2 separate regions of the Homo sapiens genome follow, and region 2 is linked to region 1. Evidence: promoter capture Hi-C in 16 types of primary human blood cells and fetal thymus (Javierre and others, 2016). All regions are on one chromosome and are shown on one strand. The core of a region is centred on a gene start or on the middle of the fragment in contact, and the rest is flanking DNA. Distances in the headings are between cores, read along the strand shown.

Region 1 (6,255 bases), core at 1,899-4,398:
CCGAGAAAGACAAACATGCCCCTCGGTCCCCTCCCCAAGTCAGCTGCCCCGGCCTCCCTGGTGGCTGAAGCTCTGTTCTCTTCCTTCTGCAGGTTTGTGAATGCATCTGCAGATGCTGGGGGCAGCAGCGCCACGTACATGGACCAGGCCCCCTCCCCAGCTGTGTGCCCCCAGGCTCCCTATAACATGTACCCACAGAAGTAGGTGGTGTTCTCATGGGGTCCGCAGGGGAAGAACTGGGGACTTGGCCCCAGGCTGGACTCCTGGAGGGCTGGCGGGCAAAGGATCCAGAGCTCTGGTTAGGCCCAAGTCCAGGAGGAGTGAGATCAGCCAGGAAAACAGAGCATTTTGAAGCTAGACATAGCAGGGTCAAGTCCTCACTCTAGTACTAACTGTGTGATCTTGGGAAAATGATTGAGCCTCTCTGATGCTCAAGTTTCCTTATGTGTAAAACGGAGGCAAGAATGCTTGCCTCATGAGAATGGGATGAGCATTAAACTGAGACAGTGTGGGTGAAGCATTTCCACAGGGAGGGGCTTGGAAGGGCTTGATACAGGGTAGCTATGAATGGGGTGGTTGTTCTTGAGTCTGGTGGGAACAAGGTAGATAATTAATTCCCTTCCTCACTGTGGATAGCCAGGGCTGGATGTCTGGGAGGTACCACCTTCCAGTGGGACCACTGAAGATCCCAGGTTCCAATCCGGACTCCACCACCTCCCAGCCAGGTGGCCCAGAGCAAGCTTCCTGATATGGCCTTGGTTTTCTCGTCTATAAAACGGGGTCAATACCCACTCTCCAGTTGGCTGTAAAAATTGGAGTCATGTGCTCAATAGGCTCAGCTGTTCTAGGTGCTCAGTGAAAAGATTCAGCTGTTCTAAGTGCTCAGTGAACGGGGCGGTGCCTACCATTGCAGCTGAGCATCATTGCAGGTGGGCAGAGCCCACTGTGTCAGCCACCTGGTTTTAAGATGAGGACACGGAGAGGGGAAATGAATTCCCTAAGATTATTCAGTGAGTTAGCAAGAGATGCGAATAGAGTGGGGGTCTGCAGAAGCCAGTGGGCTGACTGCTACCCAGCTTGGGGTGGGGTGGGGGCATCCAGCCAGAACTGGTCCTGTTCTCATGAGACGGGTTTGAGTGGAGAGCAGGCTGGAGGCTGTCCCCAGGGAGCTTGAGGCTGTGAGACATGCCAGCTCCCTCTGACATCCCCCTGTCTTTACCAGCCCTGACCATGTACTCGATCAGGATGGAGAATTCGACCTGGATGAGACCATGGATGTGGCCAGGCACGTGGAGGAACTCTTACGCCGACCAATGGACAGTCTTGACTCCCGCCTCTCGCCCCCTGCCGGTCTTTTCACCTCTGCCAGAGGCTCCCTCTCATGAATGTTTGAATCCCACGCTTCTCTTTGGAAACAATATGCAATGTGAAGCGGTCGTGTTGTGAGTTTAGTAAGGCTGTGTACACTGACACCTTTGCAGGCATGCATGTGCTTGTGTGTGTGTGTGTGTGTGTGTCCTTGTGCATGAGCTACGCCTGCCTCCCCTGTGCAGTCCTGGGATGTGGCTGCAGCAGCGGTGGCCTCTTTTCAGATCATGGCATCCAAGAGTGCGCCGAGTCTGTCTCTGTCATGGTAGAGACCGAGCCTCTGTCACTGCAGGCACTCAATGCAGCCAGACCTATTCCTCCTGGGCCCCTCATCTGCTCAGCAGCTATTTGAATGAGATGATTCAGAAGGGGAGGGGAGACAGGTAACGTCTGTAAGCTGAAGTTTCACTCCGGAGTGAGAAGCTTTGCCCTCCTAAGAGAGAGAGACAGAGAGACAGAGAGAGAGAAAGAGAGAGTGTGTGGGTCTATGTAAATGCATCTGTCCTCATGTGTTGATGTAACCGATTCATCTCTCAGAAGGGAGGCTGGGGTTCATTTTCGAGTAGTATTTTATACTTTAGTGAACGTGGACTCCAGACTCTCTGTGAACCCTATGAGAGCGCGTCTGGGCCCGGCCATGTCCTTAGCACAGGGGGGCCGCCGGTTTGAGTGAGGGTTTCTGAGCTGCTCTGAATTAGTCCTTGCTTGGCTGCTTGGCCTTGGGCTTCATTCAAGTCTATGATGCTGTTGCCCACGTTTCCCGGGATATATATTCTCTCCCCTCCGTTGGGCCCCAGCCTTCTTTGCTTGCCTCTCTGTTTGTAACCTTGTCGACAAAGAGGTAGAAAAGATTGGGTCTAGGATATGGTGGGTGGACAGGGGCCCCGGGACTTGGAGGGTTGGTCCTCTTGCCTCCTGGAAAAAACAAAAACAAAAAACTGCAGTGAAAGACAAGCTGCAAATCAGCCATGTGCTGCGTGCCTGTGGAATCTGGAGTGAGGGGTAAAAGCTGATCTGGTTTGACTCCGCTGGAGGTGGGGCCTGGAGCAGGCCTTGCGCTGTTGCGTAACTGGCTGTGTTCTGGTGAGGCCTTGCTCCCAACCCCACACGCTCCTCCCTCTGAGGCTGTAGGACTCGCAGTCAGGGGCAGCTGACCATGGAAGATTGAGAGCCCAAGGTTTAAACTTCTCTGAAGGGAGGTGGGGATGAGAAGAGGGGTTTTTTTGTACTTTGTACAAAGACCACACATTTGTGTAAACAGTGTTTTGGAATAAAATATTTTTTTCATAAATTTGCTGCTATGGCTCCTGGTTGGGGCGTTGGTGGCCTCCCTGGGTGATGGGAACCCCTGGAGCTGGTTGTTCTGTTCCTTCCCGCGTGCATGCCTGATGCTGTCATTTTTAGTCTTAAATTTTAACTCTGCCCGCTTTGCTGTGGTTTTCAGGGTGCTGGCCACCCCTGGAATACTGTCAATGCTTCTCAGAAGGGTAAGGAGCCAGTTTAGGGGGCACAGATTCCTTAAAAAGCAGGGGACTCGAGGTTTGGGGAAATGATGGAGATGGGCGCGGGTGGGCAGAACTCTGACCCAGGCTTCTCCTTAGCAGCTGCTGCTCCCAGCAGCCTCGAAGCTGGCGGCTGAGGGCCCGGCGCCAAGATGCTTCTCAACCCTCGGGGCCAGGGGCAGTCCCAGAGCCGCAACAACCGTCCCATCCTCCTCCTTCCCAGAGACCAGCAGGTGGCACCACGCGGCTGCGCTGTTTTCAGCTGGCTGCCGGCGACTGTGCGAGGCGGAGGTGCAGCAAGCGGGACCGGCTCGCCCCGGCTGGACCCCCGCACTGCCGGCTGCAGCCAGTCCCTGCTGTCGCTGGGGCCCTTGGGCTCAGGGACGCGCGCTCCCTGGGCGGGGCTGGGAGCCAGGTTTGCGGGCAGGTTCCTTCTGAGCTCAGAGCTCAAGCGAGGGAGAGGGGCGGCGCGTGGGCCCCAAGAGGGAGGTGCAGGGGGCCCAGAGCAGGGGGAAGGCGGGGGTGGGAGAAGAGAGGAGGGGAGGGGACGGGCAGGTGCCACCGCCCCAGGGGGCTAATCTGATCCATCTCTGCGAGGGAAGGTGCTCGCTCGTAGCTCCCAGGCGCGGTCTCCAGGGCGCTGGGGCACGTGTAGGGGTGGGGAGAAGCCCTGTGGGCGCCCGCGTAGCTGAGGTTGGGGCGCCTTTCCCTGCATTATCACCGCTGGCTGCCGGGGGCCCTGCAGCCACCACCGGGTGTCTGCGTGTTGTCCCCGCTGGGTGAACTGAAGGGAAAGTGATAAAGGAGCCAACTGTGGAAGGGGAGGCCTTGGTGCGGTGGGAGTATCTACCCCCCACCCCGCTTAGGTGGCTTATCTGACCCCAGACAGGACGAGGCCGCTCTGGGGGGTAGGAGGGGGCCGGGGAGGGAGGCCTCCACTCTGACACCTTTCTGCCGTTGGACTATTGACCTCCTGCTCCTCCAGGCACCCCTTACCTCCGGGCTGGTGGCTAACATAAGGGGGTTGGCGGGGGGGATTAAGGCAACCACCTCCTCTCAAGACCCTTTCCGGCCCTTATCCCAGGCCCCACCTGTGTGTGAGGCCCCCTCAGAACTTATGCAGGGGAAAAGGAAGCCTCCACCAGCCAAACAGAGCTGCCATGCTATCAGACGGTTCCTATATAACGTTTATTTCTGGAAGTTAAAGTAGATACAGCAATATACCAAAAAAAAAAAAAAAAAAAAAAGACAAAAAACCTCACAATAATATAAATTTTTACACTATGAAGTACACATTGGAATTTGAATGCAGTGGCCAGGACAGCAGCTTATAAACCACCTTATAGGTAGGTAAGCAACCCACGGGATTCCCTCGGCTGGGCTGGGGATGGGGAGGGGGCAGTGGACAGGAAGCGGGCAGGGCCTGAGGACCCTGTTCTTTAATGGGCCACAACAGGGCTCAGCTCCTCTCAGAACTTTTGCTACAATCAGAGTTAAGACCAGATACATGCTACCTAAGGCCATGAACTTGACAATATCTGCTCCAGAGAAGCCCTGAACCCTCGCCCTAGGTCCCTATGATTTAAACCCAATGGTAAGCCCAAGTCTCACCTTTCTAAATATTCTGTTTATCAGTTAAGCTTATTATGTACTGAAGAGTGTTGCTGGAGAAGTAAGAGCTCTGCATGACACATCAACTGTCTCCAGGCAGGAGGACTGGGGCGAACCCTGTTCATCTTAGAGAAGGTCGTCTCCCCCTTAATTCAGAGACCAGCTAATTTGATTTAACAAACAGAATTCCACAGAAACTCTGATCAGCTGAGGCAAGGTGGTTTTGAGTTGCCAAATCCGGCCATGCCTCTGAGTCAGAGGCAGCCCATCCAGCACGTGCTAGGTGTTCCCATACGCACAGGAGAGGCGAGCTAGCCAGCCAAGGCGGGCAGGCGGGGAGGCCCTCTAGCTGTTCTGCCTCACCTGTGGGGCCCCAGCAGGGAGGAGTCACCAGCCTCAGAGGGAGGCCAGGTATACACCCTCATACGAGGGCAGACTCAAGTTTATCAGTAAGCCTTTGCCCTGCATGAACTGAATGAAGACGCCATTACAAGTGCCACTGGATATCACCAAGAAACTGGCTAAGAACCATATTCCCTGAGCTCAACCAGACACGTCGCTGGGGCCCCATAGTGTGCATCATGTCCAACCTGTAACTCTCTCCCCCTCTTCTTCCATGAGGTCCTGAGACCAGGATTCCTAAAACAAACAGGATGAGGGACCTTTAGACACGCAAGGAGACATGCCTCTAGCAGGATCAGGGGGACTGGGGTCGGGAGGGTGGGGCAGGAAGGAAGCCAGAATCAGAAGTATCCCAGCCCTGATAAGGCACCCACAGAAACAACCTAGCCTCTGAAACAGCAGATCAAGTCCAGGGAGAAAGGGAGTCAAGGTTGTAAGCACCCTCTGCCCAGCCTTACTCACTAAAAGGCCAATACATTACAAAGGAAAATAAGTCTATTTATAAAAAAAAGTCTAAAATGCTTAGATTCTCCTTAAACCTTCCTATTTCAACACCAAAGGCCAGGTTGCAGCTTCAGATGTCTTAAGGGTTTGACCTGAAGCCCGTTTCAGGGATTATATAAATTACCAGCCTGAAGGAAGCTGAATGCTTAAAGCACCAAGGAGGCTGTTAACTGAAGTTTCTTTTTTTTTTTTTTTTTTTTGAGACAGAGTCTCAGACTGTCGCCCAGGATGGAGTGCAGTGTGCAGTGGTGCAATTTTGGCTCACTGCAACCTCCGCCTCTCAGGTTCAAGCGATTCTCCTGCCTCAGCCTCCCGAGTAGCTGGGACTACAGGCGCCCACCACCACACCCAGCTAATTTTTTGTACTTTTAGTAGAGACGGGGTTTCACCGTGTTAGCCAGGATGGTCTTGATCTCCTGACCTTATGATCCGCCTCGGCCTCCCAAAGTGCTGGGATTACAGGCGTGAGCCACCATGCCCGGCTGCTTAAGTTTCTTAAATACAGAAAGGCTATGCTGATACAGTGTTTTTTGCCCTTTAATTGTTATTATTTCTTAATTTAAAAAGAAACCTAGGGCTTAGATAGTCCTATCTTCTATTTGGATGTCAGCAAGGTTAAAAAGTGCAATGCCAGGAGTATGTAGCTATAGGTGGCCTGTGGCATTTGCTTACAGAAACAGGCAGAAGGATGCCGCAGGCACCAGGAGGCACTTGTCTAAGAACAACAACAACAATAACAAAAAGCTGCTGAGAAAGGAGGGCAGGGGAACAAAACAACACAAGACATTTCCTTTTTCTCCCTCTAGCCACCCCCCGCCACATCCCCTGATCATGGGTCTCAGAGAACACATCCTTATTTGCATTTAGA
Region 2 (6,458 bases), core at 3,839-6,338, 150 kb after region 1:
AATGTCTCAATGAACGCTCATATCAGATTCTTGGTAGAACAGTTTTAAGAATCAGAATTCATTTTCACATAAAAAGAAAACTTTTAAAAATGGAATTCTGGTTGCAAAAAGGAAAACATAGGGCAGGTGTGGTGGCTTACGCCTGTAATCTCAGGACTTTGGGAGGCAGAGGAGGGCAAATCACTTGAGGTCAGGTGTTAGAGACCAGCCTGGCCAACATGGTGAAACCCTGTCTCTACTAAAAATACAAAAAAATTATCCGGGCGTGGTGGCAGGCCCTGTAATCCCAGCTACTCGGGAGGCTGAGGCAGGATAAATGCCTGAACCCAGGAGGCAGAGGTTGTAGTGAGACGAGACTGCGCCACGGCACTCCAGTCTGGATGACAGAGTGAGACTCCGTCTCAAAAAAAAAAAAAAAAAGGAAGAAAAGAAAAAAAAATTCATGTATAACGGGGAACCTGTGAAGGTGGCCTCATTTGGAAATAGGATATTTGCAGATGTAATCAGGTTAAGATGGGATCATACTGGATTAAGTGGTGCCCTAATCTAATGGCTGGTGCCCCTATAAGAAGAGGAGAATTTGCCTACAGACAGAGACACATAGAGAAGGCCGGGTGCAGTGGCTCACTCCTGTAATCCCAGCACTTTGGGAGGCTGAGGCGGGTGGATCACTTGAGGCCAGGAGTTCGAGACTAGCCTGAGCAGTATGGCGAACCCCCGTCTCTACTGAAAATACAAAAATTAGCTGGGCGTGGCGGTGCACACCCGTAATCCCAGCTACTCAGGAGGCTGAGGCAGGAGAATTGCTTGAACCTGGGAGGTGGAGGTTGCAGTGAGCTGAGATTGCGCCACTGCACTCGTCTGGGCGACAGAGCAAGACTCTATCTCAAATAAAAAAAAAAAGACATATAGAAGAAAGAATACCATGTGACGATGGAGGCAACAATTGAAATGATGCATCTATAAGCCAAGGAACACCAAGGATTTCTGGCAACCACCAGAAGCCAGGAAGAGGGAAGAAAGGATTCTTTCCCAGAGCCTTTGGAGATACCATGCTCTGCAGACACCTTAATTTCAGACTTCTAGCCTCCGCTGTGAGAGAATAAATTTCGGTGTTTTTGTTTTTTTGAGACAGGGCCTCACTGTGTCACCCAGGCTGAAATGCAGTGGCTCAATCACGGCTCCCTGCAGCAGCATCAACCTCCCTGGCTCAGGCTCAAGCCATCCTCCCACTTCAGCCTCCTGAGTAGCTGGGTCTACAGGCACGTGCCACCATGCCCAGCTAATTTTTTTTTTTTTTTTTTTTTACAGACGTGGGTCTTGCTGTGTTGTCCAGGCTGGTCTCAAACTCCTGGGCTCAAGCCATCCTTCTGCCTTGGCCTCCCAAAGTGCTGGGATAACAGGAGTGAGCCACCGTGCATGGCCGATTTCTGTTGTTTTTTGTTTTTTTGAGACACAGTTTTGCTTTTTCATCCAAGCTGGAGTGAGGTGGCGCAAACTTGGCTCACTGTAGCCTCTGCCCCCTGGGTTCAAGTGATTCTCCTGCCTCAGCCTCCCAAGTAGCTGAGACTACAGGCGCCCACCACCATGTCTTGCTAATTTTTGTATTTTTAGTAGAGATGGGGTTTCCCCATGTTGGCCAGGCTAGTCTCGAACTCCTGACCTCAGGTGACAGGCTGGCCTCGGTCTCCCAAAGTGCTAGGATTACAGGCGTGAGCCACCTCGGCTGACCTGATTTCTGTTGTTTTAAATGCTACCCAGGTTGTGGTTATTTGTATGGCAGCCTTAGGGAAACGAATACTGGAAGCCTGTGGAGAAGACACTGGAGCAGATACGTATTTCAAAACACCGGGCTTAACGTTAAAACTCTCCTCTAGGCCCCATCTAGGAATCTAAGTGGGATAAGCTAAGATGAGCTAGCTGATTCTTCACTGGTGGAAATTTGGACAATTGACACGCATTCATTCAAACTAAAAATTAAAGATAAAAAACCACATTTAATAATTTCACTACAGTGACAATTCTTGTAACATTTTGAGACTCTATCAGTTAGATCCCTACCTCTGTTCTATTCTTTTTGTGGTAGTGAAGAACTAATCTTTATAACTGTTTTTTTTTTTTTCAGACTCAGTTTTGCTCTTATTGCCCAGGTTGGAGGGCAATGGCGCGATCTTGGCCACTGCAACCACCGCCTCCTGGGTTCAAGTGGTTCTCCTGCCTTAGCCTCCTGAGTAGCTGGGATTATAGGCATGCACCACCATCCCCAGCTAATTTTTTGTATTTTTAGTAGAGATGAGTTTTCACCATGTTGGCCAGGCTGGTCTCAAACTCCCGACCTCAGGTAATCCACCCGCCTCAGCCTTCCAAAGTGCTGGGATTACAGGCGTGAGCCACCACACCTGGCTTTAATTGTTTTTTAGCCATTTTCACAAATGCTAGGGAATAGCTCGGTTTAGATACTCGGAACTGTGTCACTGGCCAAGCCTCATATGGAATTGCTCATGTCTTCTAGGGCTGTAGGTGTGGTCAACAGCATTTTAAATTTGATCTTATTGGACATATGCCTCAGTTTTACCATATCATCTGTTATATGGGGATAATAATAGTAACTGCCTCCTAATGTTGTTGTGAGGATTAAATGAGTTTGTATTTACCAAGCATGTAGAAAAGTGCCTGGCACATAGTAAGTATTAATCACTGCACTCCTCTCTCTCTTGCCATTTGGGAAGTTTCTTTCTCACTGAACCATGAGCTCTCCAAGGATAAGAAGCATGTCTGTTTCATTTTCTATCCCCAGCACCTAGTACCCCTCTCTGGCACACAGTAGGCCCTCAGCAAGCATCTGCTGCCTAAAAGGCACTATCAAGCAGGCAGTATGAAATTCCATTTCTGAGTCTTGAAGAAGGAAGTCAGGTGGAAAAACAGATAAGAGTCCTACACATAAACGTTTAAGCTTGACAACACTCAAGACCATCAAGGAAGACAGCATGGAGGGAAAATAAATAGAACACTGAGGAAAGATTGATGGCAGGAGATGGAAGCAAACAGAAAAGGAGTTCTGAAACAATATTCTTTCAAAGAAGCCGTGAAAAGAGTTCAAGGGAATTGAAGTAAGTCCACAGGAAAGGCTGTCTTAAAAGTGGAGTATGAAAAATTTGTGGTTAGCAAGCAGCTGACTGAGGTTAATTTTTTTTTAAGTCTCAGAGGAAGGAAATGATATTGTGTAACAGTTTTCTCTAACTTGGCAGGCTTTTAAATGTGGGTCCCGATCTGTCTTGCCAGAAGGGTTGAGAGCTAGGGAGCAGGGAGAAGGAGGGTATGGGTCTCTCCAAGACTCTGTGTCTTAAGAAGGTTGTATTGAAGTCAGGTTATATCTTCACTCACAATATGAGACAATAAATTCAAATAAAACGTCCATTTTTGTCCCCTTATTTTGTTTAGGCTGGTAAAGCAGGTTTGATGATGTTTTTGTCAGGTTGACAAAATTATCAGCAACAAGTTTTTATCTGGAATATCTCCCTCATTACACTTGAATTTCAACAGGGTTCCACCACCCAGGAAGACAGAATAACCGGTTTTCTGAGTTTTTCCTGATACAATTCTGGTTATCACAAACGACTTGAGATCCCTACTCTTCTTTAAAAGGGCAAGAAAAGGGAATCAATATCAATATTTGATAATGGCATTTAAAAAATAATAGACATCACTTTTGCGTTTAAAAAATGTTTTTCAATATTTAATTTACAAGTTGAGTACAAGCCATAAAAAATGTTTTTAAAATAAATTTGAGGAATTGAAAACTCCTAAGTGGTCAATTGAGCCCACATGAATCTACCAAACAAGACTGAAATGTACTTTCACAACATATGGTCTGATGAGGTTTTTCCTGTTAAACAGAGAAAAATAGACCCGGGGAAGTTGCTGGAAGGCATGAACCATGTACCATTTAAAGAGAGGTTTTCCATACTTATGCAAATGAGACCCCGTTAAAGACTCTACTACAGGATCTAAAGCTAGCCGCTCCCCAGTCTGGGGCTCAAATGTTCTCATCTGTAAAATAAGGGAAAAGAGAAAGGGTGGTATATGTGTCTGCGTATTAATTATTTGAGTGTGTGTGTGAATTCTTTGGATATGAAAATAAAGAGAGAAGACATTAATTATTTGGGTGCGTATGTGTGAATTAATTCTTTGGATATGAAAATAAAGAGAGGGCCGGGCGCGGTGGCTCACACCTGTAATCCCAGCACTTTGGGAGGCCGAGGCGGGTGGAGGCCAGGACCAGTCTGGGCAACATGGCGAAACCCCATCTCTACAAAAAATACAAAAATAGCCGGGTGGCGTGGTGCGTGCCTGTAATCTCAGCTACTAGGGAGGCTGAGGCAGGAGAATCCCCTGAACCCGGGAGGCGGAGGCTGCAGTGAGCCGAGAACGCGCCACTGCATTCCCGCCTGGGAAACAGACCATCTAAAAAAAAAAAAAAAAAAAAAAAAAAAAGGCCGGGCGTGGTGGCTCACGCTTGTAATCCCAACACTTTGGGAGGCCGAGGCGGGTGGATCACGAGGTCAGAATTCGAGACTCAGCCTGGCCAACATAGTGAAACCCCGTCTCTACTTAAAAAAAAAAAAAATACAAAAATTAGCCGGGCATGGTGGTGCGTGCCTGTAGTCCCAGCTACTTGGGAGGCTGAGGCAGGAGAATCGCTTGAACCCGGGAGGTGGAGGTTGCAGTGGGCCGAGATCACGCCACTGCACTCCTGCTTGAGCAACAGAATGAGACTTCAAAAAAAAAAAAAGAAAGAGAAAAGACAACCTACCCCAGTATAAGGGGTAAGAAAAAGGATTCAGGGAGGCTCAGGAACTTAAGGCCTCGAGCACCTGCACCTCCAGCCCCACCCGCTAACCCTCCCCAGCGTGGAGATACAGCACAGGGGCCAACATGGCGTCAGCACGCTGGGTCTCGCCTGCGACCCCCGTGACTCCGCACTGCTGCAGCCCGGGCGAGGCTGCGCCCCATTGGCCAACTGCAATGAGGTCATTGCGGGGGCGGGGGCCGGCGGCGGCGCAGGGGCGGGGCTTTACGGACGCAAGCACGTCGAAGCGCTGCTCCTGGAGCCGCGGAGGGTGCGGGTTTGGCTGCGGTGGTTTCTGTGGCGGTTGCTGTGGCGGAGTTTGGAGGTGAGTGGGGGCTGTAGGTTTAGCGCAACAGGGAGCGGCCCTCGATGGACGTAGGAAATCCTTCTAAGAGCCCCCTTGATTGTCAGAGGAATTAGCGGGGATCTGACGTCTTCGAGATAAAATGGGGGTTCGCCCCCTCCTTGGGCACCCCTCCTCTGCCCTGAGGAACCGGAGGCTCACTGCCCTTTGGAAGCCCCGCATCTCTTCCCTGCTTTAAGGGGTAGGCGGAGGAACCGGAGGTTATTGGATAGGCAGAAGAATTTAGGGGGCTTCTTAAAGGGTTTCTCAGTTTGGGGGTTTTCCTCTCCTTTTTTCCCATCTCAAGGTAGATGAGCCTGAGTCCAGAGAATTCCTGCTCATTGGGTAGACAGGAAATGAAGCAGGTGAATACCGTGGGAGGAGGCGAGGACCGGATGACAGGAGTGAGATTCTTCTAGGCAGGGCGCGGGGGCGCTGTAGTTGGACTCATCTTTTGCAGAATTGCTGTTTCTTCATATTTTGTTTTGTGATCGTCCAGAACTACTTTGGCCTAATTAGTTTTCTGTTAGCCTCCATTGCTATAGAGATATTCTTGGGAGACCTATAATCATTAAAGAGCAGGAGGACGGAGGCGACTCGTTGGAGGCTTATCATTATCCACAGCTCCTGAACTATGCTGACCAGGCCTAATTTTATGTGTTTAGAGGTTGTAGAATCTCTCTTTGTTTAAGGGTGGTGCCGGTAACAGCTGATTTGGATGATTCAGATGTACAGAATCTTAAAGTCAGCCTGCATATTCTCTTGAGAAGTCCTTGCTTATGTCTGAGCTTGTGTTACTGTCTTGAACATCACATGCACAAAGGTTTGTTCGTTCAGATTTCTCAAAATGTCTCCCAGCCTTCCAGAAGAGTAAATCTTCCTTTGATGTCAGACTCATCTATCAGTACTCAGTATAGATGCCCTTATGACACTAAAAATACTGTGCATTTTTCTGAGTTTGGATACTGGACAGGCTGTGCCTTACATTAGCTGATCGAGAATAAATAATTGCAGTTTCAGGACCACTGATAGCGCCAGTTGTCTCATACCCGGCAACAGTAAGACAGCACTAAAACGAAACCTTTATTGGCTCATGAGATTTGACAGATGGAAGAATGTAATTAATCTTGAAGGTAGGGTTGAGAAACAGAAAGCTGCAGAGGTGGAAGGCTTATTCTCTGTGGCTTGATAAAACTGCTTTGTCATTATCAGTGTGTTCCTGTCATGCTTGATTTGAAATTGAGCTTAATATGCAAACTGGTTGCT

Evidence for each region. The method cuts DNA at HindIII sites, captures the fragments that hold promoters and counts their contacts. A CHiCAGO score of 5 or more calls a contact.
Region 2: the fragment with the promoter of ATP6V0A1 here is called in contact with a fragment that was not itself captured in region 1 in 17 of 17 cell types (megakaryocytes, total B cells, naive B cells and 14 more); the score reaches 17.6 in megakaryocytes.

Annotation. Positions count from the first base shown.
Region 1 is chr17:42,309,285-42,315,539 of GRCh38, forward strand. It overlaps STAT5A (signal transducer and activator of transcription 5A), which reads left to right. Exons shown (of 19, transcript NM_001288718.2): 18 at 93-200; 19 at 1,223-2,659. The coding sequence ends at 1,385. STAT3 (signal transducer and activator of transcription 3) reads right to left here. Exons shown (of 24, transcript NM_139276.3): 24 at 4,040-6,255. Among named protein-coding and RNA genes, the nearest start is that of STAT5A, 24 kb to the left of the region's middle. RefSeq lists an enhancer at 1,607-1,656 and silencers at 2,909-3,048, 3,119-3,218, 3,339-3,498. The HindIII fragment of the contact is 2,719 bases long and covers 1,790-4,508 here.
Region 2 is chr17:42,453,790-42,460,247 of GRCh38, forward strand. It overlaps ATP6V0A1 (ATPase H+ transporting V0 subunit a1), which reads left to right and starts at 5,089. Exons shown (of 22, transcript NM_001130021.3): 1 at 5,089-5,174. RefSeq lists an enhancer at 4,709-4,798 and a silencer at 4,949-5,158. The HindIII fragment of the contact is 8,228 bases long and covers 2,952-6,458 here.